Regions from separate parts of the Homo sapiens genome. Here region 1 is linked to region 2. The links are contacts of gene promoters, found by promoter capture Hi-C in blood cells and fetal thymus (Javierre and others, 2016). All regions are on one chromosome and are shown on one strand. The core of a region is centred on a gene start or on the middle of the fragment in contact, and the rest is flanking DNA. Distances in the headings are between cores, read along the strand shown. Region 1 has its middle 100 kb from the start of LINC00278. Region 2 holds the start of SRY (sex determining region Y).

Evidence for each region. Contacts are between HindIII fragments. The CHiCAGO score rates a contact against its expected background, and 5 or more counts as called.
Region 1: a contact is called between a fragment that was not itself captured here and the fragment with the promoter of SRY in region 2, in 5 of 17 cell types (M0 macrophages, non-activated CD4 T cells, M2 macrophages and 2 more). The highest score is 8.5, in M0 macrophages.

Annotation. Positions count from the first base shown.
Region 1 is chrY:3,103,399-3,109,868 of GRCh38, forward strand. No RefSeq gene overlaps it. Among named protein-coding and RNA genes, the nearest start is that of LINC00278, 100 kb to the left of the region's middle. The HindIII fragment of the contact is 162 bases long and covers 2,250-2,411 here.
Region 2 is chrY:2,783,671-2,790,018 of GRCh38, forward strand. SRY (sex determining region Y) reads right to left here and starts at 4,012. Exons shown (of 1, transcript NM_003140.3): 1 at 3,185-4,012. The coding sequence starts at 3,933. The coding sequence ends at 3,319. It also overlaps the pseudogene RNU6-1334P and the pseudogene RNASEH2CP1. RefSeq lists promoters at 3,934-6,348, 4,030-6,004, 4,030-4,343. The HindIII fragment of the contact is 2,145 bases long and covers 2,194-4,338 here.

The DNA of each region.
Region 1 (6,470 bases), core at 1,081-3,580, 320 kb after region 2:
TAATGATGCTATGAACATTATGTGCACATTTTCTATTGAACATGGGAGTATCTCTTCAGCAGCAATCTTCAAACTTTTTTCTTTAATACAACTGAAAAAAACTATGTCCACTTCACATATGTTTGGGTTGGTGTCTAAATATTTTTATGTAAAAGAATTGCAAAAATATTTAATTTCTAGCATACTATAAATGTGTCTTAAAAATGTGTTTTCCTCAAACCCTTAAAGCTATAGCTTTATCTCATACAATTTGGGAAAATGTCTACTATATACTCTAATTGGCAAAACAGTTCCCACTCTGAGAATCAAAAATTACTTGCATTACCAATAAGAATAATTTCACTTTTGAACTCCAATAAAGCTTAAGATGCCCATTAAACATCTCATTTTTAAAGATTCCTGGGTAGATACAGTATGCAGATATATAAATGATTGATAGAGTGATTGATTGAAACAGACAAAAATTTTTGATAGTAGTTTTGTACTTAGGTGAAATAAAGGCAATATTTTTTACACATCTTTTTAGTTTGCTTTCACAATAAAAATCTTCCTCAGAAACTTTGTATGCTCATACTGTTTCCTTGTAGGATGCTCTACAGATTGGTACACTCTAATGTACTATTGTAATGTTCCAGATAGGAGAAATGGCTACCTTTATTTTGTTAAACTGGAGATTGGCAGCTATGACTGAGGACTTGCAAAAGCGGAAACAGGGACTTCTCAGTGAGGTCAATATTTGGAGGAAATATGTATAGAAACTGAAGATCTGTCTGAGTTTACCCCTGAGGTACATTATAGCATACATGAGTTTGAATATTTATTCTTTAATGTACATATTTGGTTATGGAGTTGTTTAAGCATCAGCTGTTTGGAAATTCTGCTTTGCCAAGATATTTCTAACTTGCTTTTTAGAACAGTTGTAACATTTTACATTTCCATAGCTCCCTTGGCTTCACATGATTGAGTAATACTTTAAATCAGATTGTAAATGTATTACGCAGTGGTTTTAATTTCCTGATTAGTAATGAGATTGTAACTGAACTCAGGTTCAGTTGTTTGCCAATTGAAAGCCAAAACTTGAGAGGCAAGCGTTGGTGGAAGAGAAAAGCAGGTTTATTCAGGACCTGACAATCCAAGGAGATGGTGGACTTGCATAGCAAAGACCATCTCAAGTTTCTCAGCCTGGACATAGGGGTTTTAAAGGGGAAAGGGCTTGGGAAACTATGTGCAGGAGTTAGCTATGCATTTCAGAATGTCTTTTTCCAACGACTGTCATGAGGAATGGGCATCAAGAGGTGTAGCTGGCATCATCCAACCTCTAATAAGATTGAAGATTAACTGCTCAGTATTTTTTTTCCATTAAGAACATTTCACAGCCTTGGTTTTATCTTGGGGTTAGTTCTTGGAATTCTTAAGCAAGCACACAATTAGGTATCGTAAAAGAAAGAATAGTTATTTGTTTCCAAAATGGAATGACTGCATCAGTTACAAGATGATCACCTTTATATGTTATTGCTATTCAGATTTTCTCTTCCATAAAATACTTGTTTGCATCTTTTGCCTGCAGTTTAATTGGGTGGTTTGACATTTTGGTTTATATGAATTTCTTAATATGTTATGGACATTAATCCTACACTGGTTTTTTATGTTGCAAAGATCTGCTCTCAGCGTGAAAATTCTTTTTATGGCGTCTTTTGATGATGAAAAGTCCACAATTCAAAATAGATTAACTTATCAATACTTACTAGTTTCTTTTACTTAAGTATGTTATTTCTCTTAAAAATTATCTATATATCAGAAAAATACCTCCATTTATATTCCTGAAAAAATTATTTAAATTTGCCTTTCATATTTAAGTCTCTGATATACTGGAAATTAACTTTTGCATATGTCATGACGGATACACTATTTTGCTTGCTTTATAGTTTCCGGATAAATACTTATCTCAGGGCCACTGACTGACTAGTCTATACTTTTACCTCTATACAATATCTGGTGTTCATATTTTTGCAGGTCTATTTCTTGACTCTCTAACGTGTTTTTAGCTTTCAATCCTTGCACTCACACCATGCAGTGTTAATTGCAATTGTTTGATAGTAAATTTTAATCACTGCTATAGCAAATTTTCGTATCTTATTTCTTCTGGGTTATACTTGGCTCTTTGGCCTTTGGTTCCTTGACTGTACTTCCATTTAAAATTTCAGGATTGACTTCAGTTAAAAATAATCTGTAAGAATTGTTCAAATTTAAGCTTGAATTACCAGAAATATTTCACTTTTTGCATTAAATGCATCTCATGATTATTGATATGTAATATTATTTTATTTTCTTCAATTCTAAAGATCACTTATTCCCCACTGGGATTTTTTATTTAGCATTAATTTATGTAGAAAAGTGTTTTTAAAATTCCAAGCTTATGATATTGTGAGTTATCTTTGTATTATTTAAAAATTAATAACATTGCAGTTAGATATTATTATGTGTATGAAATTAATATTGGAAAACCACTGAGAATTGCTCTATTTCCTATTATATTGTTGATTTTCATGAATGTTTCCTGTTTCTTGAAACTGTATATTCGTCAGTTCTTTGGTATAGTGTTCTATATATACTCATTTGATCATTCTTACTATATGTTACCCAAATATTCTTAATCACAATTTTTACCTGTTTCACCCATCAATTACTGAAAGATATGTTTTTAAATCCTCACTGATGTAGTAACTTTCAGCATATTTTGCACATATACAGATGCTCCTTGATTTATGATAGATTTATGCCCTGATAAACTCATAATAACTCAAAAATTTTGGAAATCACAATGCATTTAATACCCCAGTAAACACATTGTTAGTAAAAAAAAATATTAAGTTGAACTATCATAAGTTCAGCTGTTCCTTGACTTACAATGAGGTCACACCCCAATAAACCCATCACAAATGCAAAAAATCATAAGTTGAACCATAGTTAAGTAGAGGTCATCTGTATATATTTATAACTATATATCAATATAAACATAGATATAAGTATGTGTGTACATGCATGAATGTATATCATACAGATCTGTCAGGTTAGAACTATTATATTAATATCTTCCTGACAAATTGAACCCCATCATCTCTTGTTCACTGGGCCTTGAAATTTATTTTATCTGATTTTAATATAACCAAAGTAGCTCTTTTTTAATTAGTATTTGCCTGCCATATTATTTTGTATTATTTTACTGTAACAATTCCTGTTTTCTTGTGGTTTTGGTAAAACCTCTGAACACTGCATATAGATTTAAAATAATTCTGTAGATCTACTGGCATCATTTTTGTAGATATATGTTAACTTGTTTCTAATTCCAATTTTTTCAATTTTCCTCTTTTTAAAATTTCAGCTTTCATTGAGGAGTATAACACATGTATAGGAAATTGCACAAAATTTATATATATTCTTTTAGGGATAACTTTAAAAGATAAATCTGTGAAACCAGAATCTAGGACAATATATTTTTTTTTTTACGTGAAACCCAGTGAACCACAGTTATTTTATTAGTTGGGTATTTTTTTATGGCCCAGGGTTGCACAAAATTACAAAACAATTTATTTGCTACCCCACCAAATATAAAATAATGGGGCTGGAACAAAATCATGACAATAAAAATTTCCCATTCAGAATAAAGGAGAATGAAAGATTCATAGCAATTATGCAATGCTGCTGGATAGGCAATTTGAAGGCCCTTTTCCTTGGCGGTGGGGTAATTTCTTTGTTTAGACTGATTCTTCTTTTAAGAAAAACTATATTTTATGGTACTCACCAGGATTCCAGCTCTACGCTCAGCATAATTCTTTCTCATTTATTATCTTTTGTGGCCTCATCATAGGAAAAATGTACATATATTAAGATTTTAAATAAATGAATAATTCTAGATGTGGAAAGGTTATCATTATAATTAGTTATAACTATAATATTATAATAATACAAAGATCTGAATGAATGGCTTCTCCCAGATAATATTGTATTGAAAGTATATATATACCTTTTAAAAAATGAACATAATTAAGTTGCTCTAATGGAAGAAAAATCACACCTCGTTTTGCACCATGTACATCAATTGACGTTTGATAATAAAGTGCAGATTTTCACACACAGCACACAGCAACACCTTGGTCACCTTATCATTCCATCCAATCTGTGATATTAAGATTGTATATGATCTCTTAAGATTTATTCAGCTCATTATATATTCCCCCTGAAAGAAAGTGGGGATGGTAGACTCTCCCATTCATTTCTCTTAATTTTTGCACAGAATGCCCTTCATTGTGATACATACATTGCACTATCCTCCTAGATCATTACATGTGAGATGCAAAAGTTCCTTTTACCCAAATTTCAGTCATTTATAATTTTTAAATTTATTAGTTAAAAGTATAATAGTTATTTCTACTTTTTAGTAGCATTTGAAGATAAGAGACAAATACCTTACCCAGAATTATCTGGATGATTCAGTTAAATTTGTTAACTTTATTATGTGATAGGCCATTGAATTTTCCTGCACTGTAATATGAATTGTGTAGATAAAAACATTTACTCAAATGCAGCTCTAGCCTCACTTATATTTTCTATTCTATTTTATATTTTAAAAAACTAAATGTAATTTCCATAAGAGCTGTATGGAAACACAGCTGCCAGAGAGCATGGCATAATGTGGACAAGTGACACTGGGAGGGAACAGTCAGAAATTAGGTCAGTTTTCCAGTCCAAAAGCTTTGCTGGGGAGAATGAAAATGGGAAACAGAAAAAAGCAGGGGTTGCAATCCTAATTTCAGATAAAACAGACTGTAAACCCACAAAGATCAAAAAAGACAAAGGAGAGTCTTACATAGCACTAAAGGGCTCAATTCAACAAGAAGGCCTAACTATCCTAAATATATATGCACCCAAAACAGTGGCGCCCAGATTCATAAAGCAAGTTCTTAGAGACCTACAAACTTAGACTACGACACAATAATAGTGAGAGACTTCAACATTCTACTGATAGTATTACACAGATCATAGAAGCAAAAAATTAACAAAGATATTCAAGACCTAAACTCAACAATGGACAAAATGGATCTGATAGACCTTTACAGAACTCTCTAGCCGAAACCAGGATATACATTCTTCTCATTGCCACGTGGCACATACTCAAAAATTGACCACATAATTGGGCATAAAACAATATTCAGCAAATGCAAAATAACTGAAATTATACCAAACAGACTCTTGGATCACAGTGCAATAAAAATAGAAGTCAAGCCTGAAAAAAAAATCACTAAAAACTACCCAATTACATGGAAATTAAACAACATGCTCCTAAATGACTTTTGGATAAATAATGAAATTAAAGGAGAAACCAAGAAGTTCTTTGAAACTAACGCAAAGGTACAACATACCAGAATCCCTGGGACCCCGCTAAGCAGTGTTAAGAAGGAAGTTTATGACACTAAATGCCCACATCAAAAAGTTAGAAAGATATCAGATGAGCAACCGAGCATCACCATTTGAGGAACTAGAGAAATGAGAGCAAACCAACCCCAAAGCTAACAGAAGACCAGAAATTCTCAAAATCAGAGCTGAACTGAAGAAAATTAAGACACAAAAACCACACCAACAAATCAACGAATCTAGGAGTTGGTTCTTTGAAAGAATTAATAAAATAGGCTGCTAGCTAGACTAATAAATAAATAGAGAAATATTAAAACAAATGCAGTCAGAAATGACAAAGGGGACATTATCACTGACCCCACAGAAATACAAAACAAAAACAAAAACAAAAACAAACCCAAAAAACCCTGACACTACTGTGAACACCTCTATGCACACAAACTAGAAAACTTAGAAGAAATGGATAAATTCCTGGAACCCTACGACTTCTCAAGATTGAAGCAGGAAATAATTGAATCCCTGAGCAAATCAATAATTATTTCCAAAATTGAATCAGTAGTAAAAAGCCTATCAACAAGAAAATGCTCAGGACCAGATGGATTCACAGCATAATTCTACAAGATGTGTATATCTGTGTGTGTGTGTGTGTGTGTGTGTATGTAAATAAACTGGTACCATTTCTACTAAAACTATTCCAAAAAATTGAGAACGACATACTCCTCCCTAACTCATTCTTTGAGACCAGCATCATCCTGATACCAAAACCTGGTAGAGACACGGCAAAAAAAGAAAACTTCAGGCAAATATCCTTGATGAACATTGATGCAAAAATCCTCGGCAGAATACTAGCAAACCAAATCCAGCAGCACATAAAAAAGCTAATCCACCATAATCAAGTAAGCTTTATCCCTAGGATGCATGGTTTGTTCAACATATGCAAATCAATAAATGATATTCACCACATAAGCAGTACTAAAAAAACAAAAATCACATGATTATCTCCACAGATGCAGTAAAGACTTTTGACAAAATTTAACGTCTCTTCATGTTAACAACCC
Region 2 (6,348 bases), core at 2,762-5,261:
CTTCAATGCCTAATGAAATAATGTCTAATCAATCATGAATATCTACATTACTCTTCACTAAGATATTTTTTAGATGGAGCAATTACTTTCAGGTTAATAATAGCAAATATTTAGTTAATTCTTCACTAATGCTGATGTCTGTTCTAAGTATTTCTTTTTTTCTTTTCTTTTCTTTTTTTTTTTTTTTTTTTGTTGAGATGGAGTCTTGCTCTGTCGCCCAGGCTGGAGTGCAGTGGCGCCATCTTGGCTCACTGCAAGCTCCATCTACTGGATTCAAGCCCTCTCCTGCCTCAGCCTCCCAAGTAGCTGGGACTACAGGCGCCCGCCACCAAGCCTGGCTAATTTTTTGTATTTTTAGTAGAGACGGGGTTTCACCATGTTAGCTAGGATGATCTCAATCTCCTGACCTCGTGATCCACCCACCTTGGCCTCCCAAAGTGCTGGGATTACAGGCGTGAGCCACTGCTCCCAGCCTGTTCTAAGTATTTCTTATATACACTCACTTATTTAATGCTTGTGTACCTTAATTCATGTAGCCTTCACATCTCTTCATGGGTTGGTTTTATTAGTAAATAGCATTTCAACTAACAAAATTATTACAGAATTGAAAAAACTGAGACTCAGACAGCGAAGTAAATTGTTCAAGCTCAAGCCTGTAAGTGGCACTCAAGTGAGCCAAAGCTGAAGGGTTTACCTTCCAGAGCCTGTGTTCTTTATTCAGTACCAAGCTCCCTCTTAATGTATTTTAAGTGTTGGCATTTTAAAATATAGCAAACATCCATTGGCAGCCAAAGCACACTTGATACTTATAGTTAGAATTTGTTTGTTTATTGATGTTTGTTTAAACATCACAAAAATACAAAAATGCTTCATTTCAGTAATTCCTAAGTAAACCATACATAAAGTATCAATTCCTCTCCTGGGAGTGTGCTTCACAGAAATTCTTATAAATGTTCTCCATTGTACATGTATAAGAATGTATAAAAAAGCACTGTTTGTAATAATTGAAACCAGTAAGTGTCCATTCATTTGTCCAACAAAAATAGAATGAAATACGCACAACAATTTTTTCTTAAAAATTCTAGTTTGGGCAGCATATACACTAAAATTAGAATGGTATGGAGAAGAATAACACTGTCCCTGGGCCAGGAGGGTATTCAAATGTGAAGTCTTTCATATTTTTGGGAGTAGAATTGTGGCTACCCTCTAGTAGGGTCAGGTGAAGAGATGAGTATTGTTATTCAAAAATTATAATATTTCATCTAGATAGAAGCAATTAGTTCAGATCTATTGTAAAGCATGTTGAATATAGGTAATAAGAATGTATTGTATGCTTGAAAATTGCTAAGAGAATACAATTTAAATGTTCCCAGTGCAAAAGGAAAGGGAAGTATATGAGGTAGTAGATACATTAGCTTGATTTAGTCTTTCCAAAATGTATACATGCATGATGTCATAATTTTTAATAATCTGAAAACCACCAAAATGTATTAAGCAAAAGAAGCTCCACATAATATTTTGTATTTATATTTATTCACATTGTTAAGGAAAAATGGTATTCAGTGATACTTGTTCAAACTTGATAAGGAAGACTATTCACGACCAACAGCACAGCAATGAGGTCTTGCACTGGGGGAGAGATTGGCCTTAGCTCCACATACACAGCTGGGTAGGTGGGGATTTATAGCCAAGGAGCAGGGAGTAGGGTCAATGGATGGACAATCACTAAGAGAAGACATCATAGATAAGGAGGATTCTTGCTGAAGACAGGCTAGGCTGATCAGACATCACCTAGAGGGTGGTGGAGGATGAGAAACCTGATCAGATATTGAGGGTGATCGATCAAGTGTTGAGTGTGATCAGATATGCGGTGGGGGTACAGTCTGGCTAACCTGGCTTAGGAGAGTTCTTTGCCAAAACTGAGTTTGGCAAGGAAGTGCACAGGCGAGTCTAGGAGAAGGTTCAGAAACCTGACTAAAGTTTGGTCAAACAGAGAATCTGTGTCAGAGGTTCAAGAAAAGGAAAATTAATGTATGGTAATGAAGGTCAGAATGGGTGTTATTTTTGGGAGAGTGAAAAGAGTGGTTTTAAATATTACAAAGTAGTTTTGAGTCAGTGTTTAAAAGGTAATGGGCAATATACAGTTCTCATTTGGCATAAAGCTCAGATTAAGTAATATTGTCTCTGGAATAAAGCTTTTTTTAAACCCTGAACTTTGAGAAACATGACATCCATCTCTAATATACACTCTTTTAGTGTTTGAGTTTTATTATTTAAGGTAATGTCTCTGAAAAGTTTTGAAATATTGGAAAGCTGACTTTGATACATACCATTAATTTTGACTTTTGATTTATTTTTATTGTAGAAAAATTTATTTGTAATTTATACTTTAAACTGTGGTTTACAGTTATTTGTAAACTTCTAGTTTCCTGCTTTAGCTTATGTGCAAATTTTATGAAGTCTTGGCATTACATTTTTATTTAAATCCCATCAAATTAAACCAGTTGGGTCACCAGCCCCCGCCCTTCCATCTCCATAATCTGGGTAGTCGGCGTTCTCAACATTCCTGTTGAGAATGAAAATTCTGTATTTTTCATTCCACAGGCTTAAAAGTTAATAGGCCATGGAAACAAGTAGATTGCCATTTTAAAAGATAGTTTTCAGAAGAAAGGCAAAATGATAAGTTTCATAGAGATACAAAAATGACAAGGAATTAAATATTTTGTTTTACCAGAGGCATTTTATAACTAGTTGAAAGGAAATGTCAACCGTTTGGATTTATATGGAGTAAAGGAACTGAATTGCAAGTGGAGGTAAAACTGGTTTTTTCCACAGCGTGAAGGGGAGAGAAAGAAACAAGTTTGATCCTGCTTACATATCCATTCCTTAGTTACCTGCAATTTATAGACACGTACAAAGTAGCTGAAAGACCAATGAATACACGGTCTAGAGAGGACTGCTTAACACGCTGCATATAGAAGTGTGATTTTTTTTGGTACAATTTTCAAGTGTGTTTCTCATTAGAGCATTTAAAGTAAGCCACAGTGTCCGTTTGTATCAAGTTAGTACTCTGACGGCCACAAACATAGGCAGGCTCACTTCTGGATGTCTTATTTCTTTGCATGTTAATCGTGTTGACACAACTTGTCTTGAAATTAAGTTTAAAATGAAATACCAGTAAAACTGAAATGAATAAGGCCTTTATTAGCCAGAGAAAAGAAAACAATATTGAAACTAAACATAAGAAAGTGAGGGCTGTAAGTTATCGTAAAAAGGAGCATCTAGGTAGGTCTTTGTAGCCAATGTTACCCGATTGTCCTACAGCTTTGTCCAGTGGCTGTAGCGGTCCCGTTGCTGCGGTGAGCTGGCTGCGTTGATGGGCGGTAAGTGGCCTAGCTGGTGCTCCATTCTTGAGTGTGTGGCTTTCGTACAGTCATCCCTGTACAACCTGTTGTCCAGTTGCACTTCGCTGCAGAGTACCGAAGCGGGATCTGCGGGAAGCAAACTGCAATTCTTCGGCAGCATCTTCGCCTTCCGACGAGGTCGATACTTATAATTCGGGTATTTCTCTCTGTGCATGGCCTGTAATTTCTGTGCCTCCTGGAAGAATGGCCATTTTTCGGCTTCAGTAAGCATTTTCCACTGGTATCCCAGCTGCTTGCTGATCTCTGAGTTTCGCATTCTGGGATTCTCTAGAGCCATCTTGCGCCTCTGATCGCGAGACCACACGATGAATGCGTTCATGGGTCGCTTCACTCTATCCTGGACGTTGCCTTTACTGTTTTCTCCCGTTTCACACTGATACTTAGAGTTACAGCTTTCAGTGCAAAGGAAGGAAGAGCTTCTCCGGAGAGCGGGAATATTCTCTTGCACAGCTGGACTGTAATCATCGCTGTTGAATACGCTTAACATAGCAGAAGCATATGATTGCATTGTCAAAAACAAGGAGAGTGCGACAAAATTGAAAGGTGCCAGAGTTCGAAACTTATTTTACTATCCAAAACTCACTTCTACCAGATTCTTTGTTACGTTAACTTTTGTAATGAAACTTGCATTTCTCCGCCCTCAACACCCCCTCAACCCCGCCCAACCAGCCTACCCCCTAGTACCCTGACAATGTATTCATTCTCAAGCAAAACATGGTAATTCAGTAACGTTGACTACTTGCCCTGCTGATCTGCCTCCCTGACTGCTCTACTGCTGTCCTGAAAAATGCGAATTTGACTTAATCGCCAATTTTTTCATTGACCTTTTATGTCACAAAACGAGAGGACACAAAAAGCTATATGAATTGTTTATCATTATCAATATATGTGTATGTTATCTTTAAAAAAACAAAGCTTAATGAGAACCTAATTGTCTTAACCACACACATACATACATAACTGCATATTGAATTTATAGTAATTATTATCGCTTTTTCTTCACTTCTATTTAAAAATTGAAAATTCTATACACATTTTTCACAGGCATTAAGTATCAGAATATTAGCATATACTTACAAGTATTTTATGCCCAACTTCTAGGATGGCTAACATTTGACTTTTAGAAAAGTAATTGTTTCGTTTAGAGAAAAAAAAATATGACCTAAGAACTCAAAACAGTTTCAGTGAAGTGTTAAGCTACACTAAAAAGGGGACACAATTCTTTTCTTTGCAGATTGTATAGTGGGATATTTTGAAGTCATTCTCTTCACTGTCACACAATTAGCAATTTAAAAAACAATCTTTTACAAGTCTAAATTAAATTTCCATTCACAACAAATAGAGCCATCAATTTATCATATTTCACCTTTTAGTTCAACCTCCTTCAAAATTTAAAGGTCACAGTTTACCAGACTAAACAAGTGAATAACTCTCCTCAATAAATCTTAAAGTCTGAAGAGAAATGACAAGATTTCTTTGCTGAAATAAAATGGGAGGAAAGTCCCCCCACTCACCAATGTTTTAATGCCATATTTGCAAAACAGGAGTAACAACTACAGGTTGCATAGTACACAGAACCTATTAATAAAAATAAACTCTCAGCAAAACTGAATGATGCCACAATTCCTAAGACAACAAAATAAAAATCCCGTAAAATATGAAAAGAGTTCATAGAACCAAATGTGGTTGGTTTGTCCAGTAAATGTTATAATGAATTAATATCAGAAACTTTAAAAAATTATATTCCATGAAAAGAAAAATATGAAAACTGTAATTTGTATCCTAGTTATCTACTAAAGTTTAGTATCTAAGATACAAAATTTAGTATTCATTATACAAAGTGGAAATATAGTTGGCTCAAGTTAAAACATGTATCTGGATAGCAAATAAAATGGTTAAATTGCAGTCATACACAGAAACAGATTTTCTACAACAGGAAATCCCTTACAAGATGAGAAAAAACATACCATTTCAAAACCTGACATGAAAATAGCAAAAAATGACACAAGGCACCACATAGGTGAACCTTGAAAATGTTACACTGTGTGAAAAAGTCAGATACAAGAGGCCAGATACTGAATGATCCCATGTATATGAAATATCCAGGAAAGGCAAATGAATAGAGACTAAAACCAGATTAATGGTTGCTAAGGACTGGATGAAAGAGGTTGTGGGGAGTTACTGCTGGTGGATGCACGGTTTCTTTTGAGGATTGATAAAATATGCTCTGGAACTAGAGAGAGGTGATGGCTGCACAACATGGTGAACCAAAGAGTCAGAGAAACTGAAGTCCAAATAAGGAGTTTGTTGGCAGTTTTAGAACTGTAATTAGAGAAACAGATTCCAGAAGCATCTGACATTGTGTCGTGACCGGCTGTTTTGAGAGACAGTTTTTAAAGGAAATAAGAGAAAGTTGGTACTCATTAGGTTACTTACAACCTATTATCTTAATTGGTAATGAAGGGTTATCTTAACAGTTCATGAGTTTCTACGCAAAAGTCCTTGAATCAGTGGTTTGGGTAAAAAGTCAGTTTTCACTATGAAGTCTTTTAATAAGTGGCAGCAATTTTTGTCTGCAGAATCTGCAAGTACATTTTGCAGTCAGGCAGTTGCAAGATGGGTTTCAAAAACAAAATGTTGTTGCTATGGTTAGGTCTTGTTGCCTTCGTTCCCCGGTACTACTGAATCGTCCAGTTTAAGAGGGATAAAGTGGCGTCGCACAGGAGCGAGGATGGAGAGCGGCGACTAGGCGGCTATGGAGAGGTACAGCGTCCAGTTGCGCCCAGCCACACTGCAGGACGCCGCCCCCGCCACACTACACCTGATACCCTGCGGCCCACCACGGTGTGGCGCTTCATCACGCCTGCCATCCGCCAGGGCCCCGAGGGACTCTTAAGTGTAGTTTCGGGGCCGCAGTCTACGG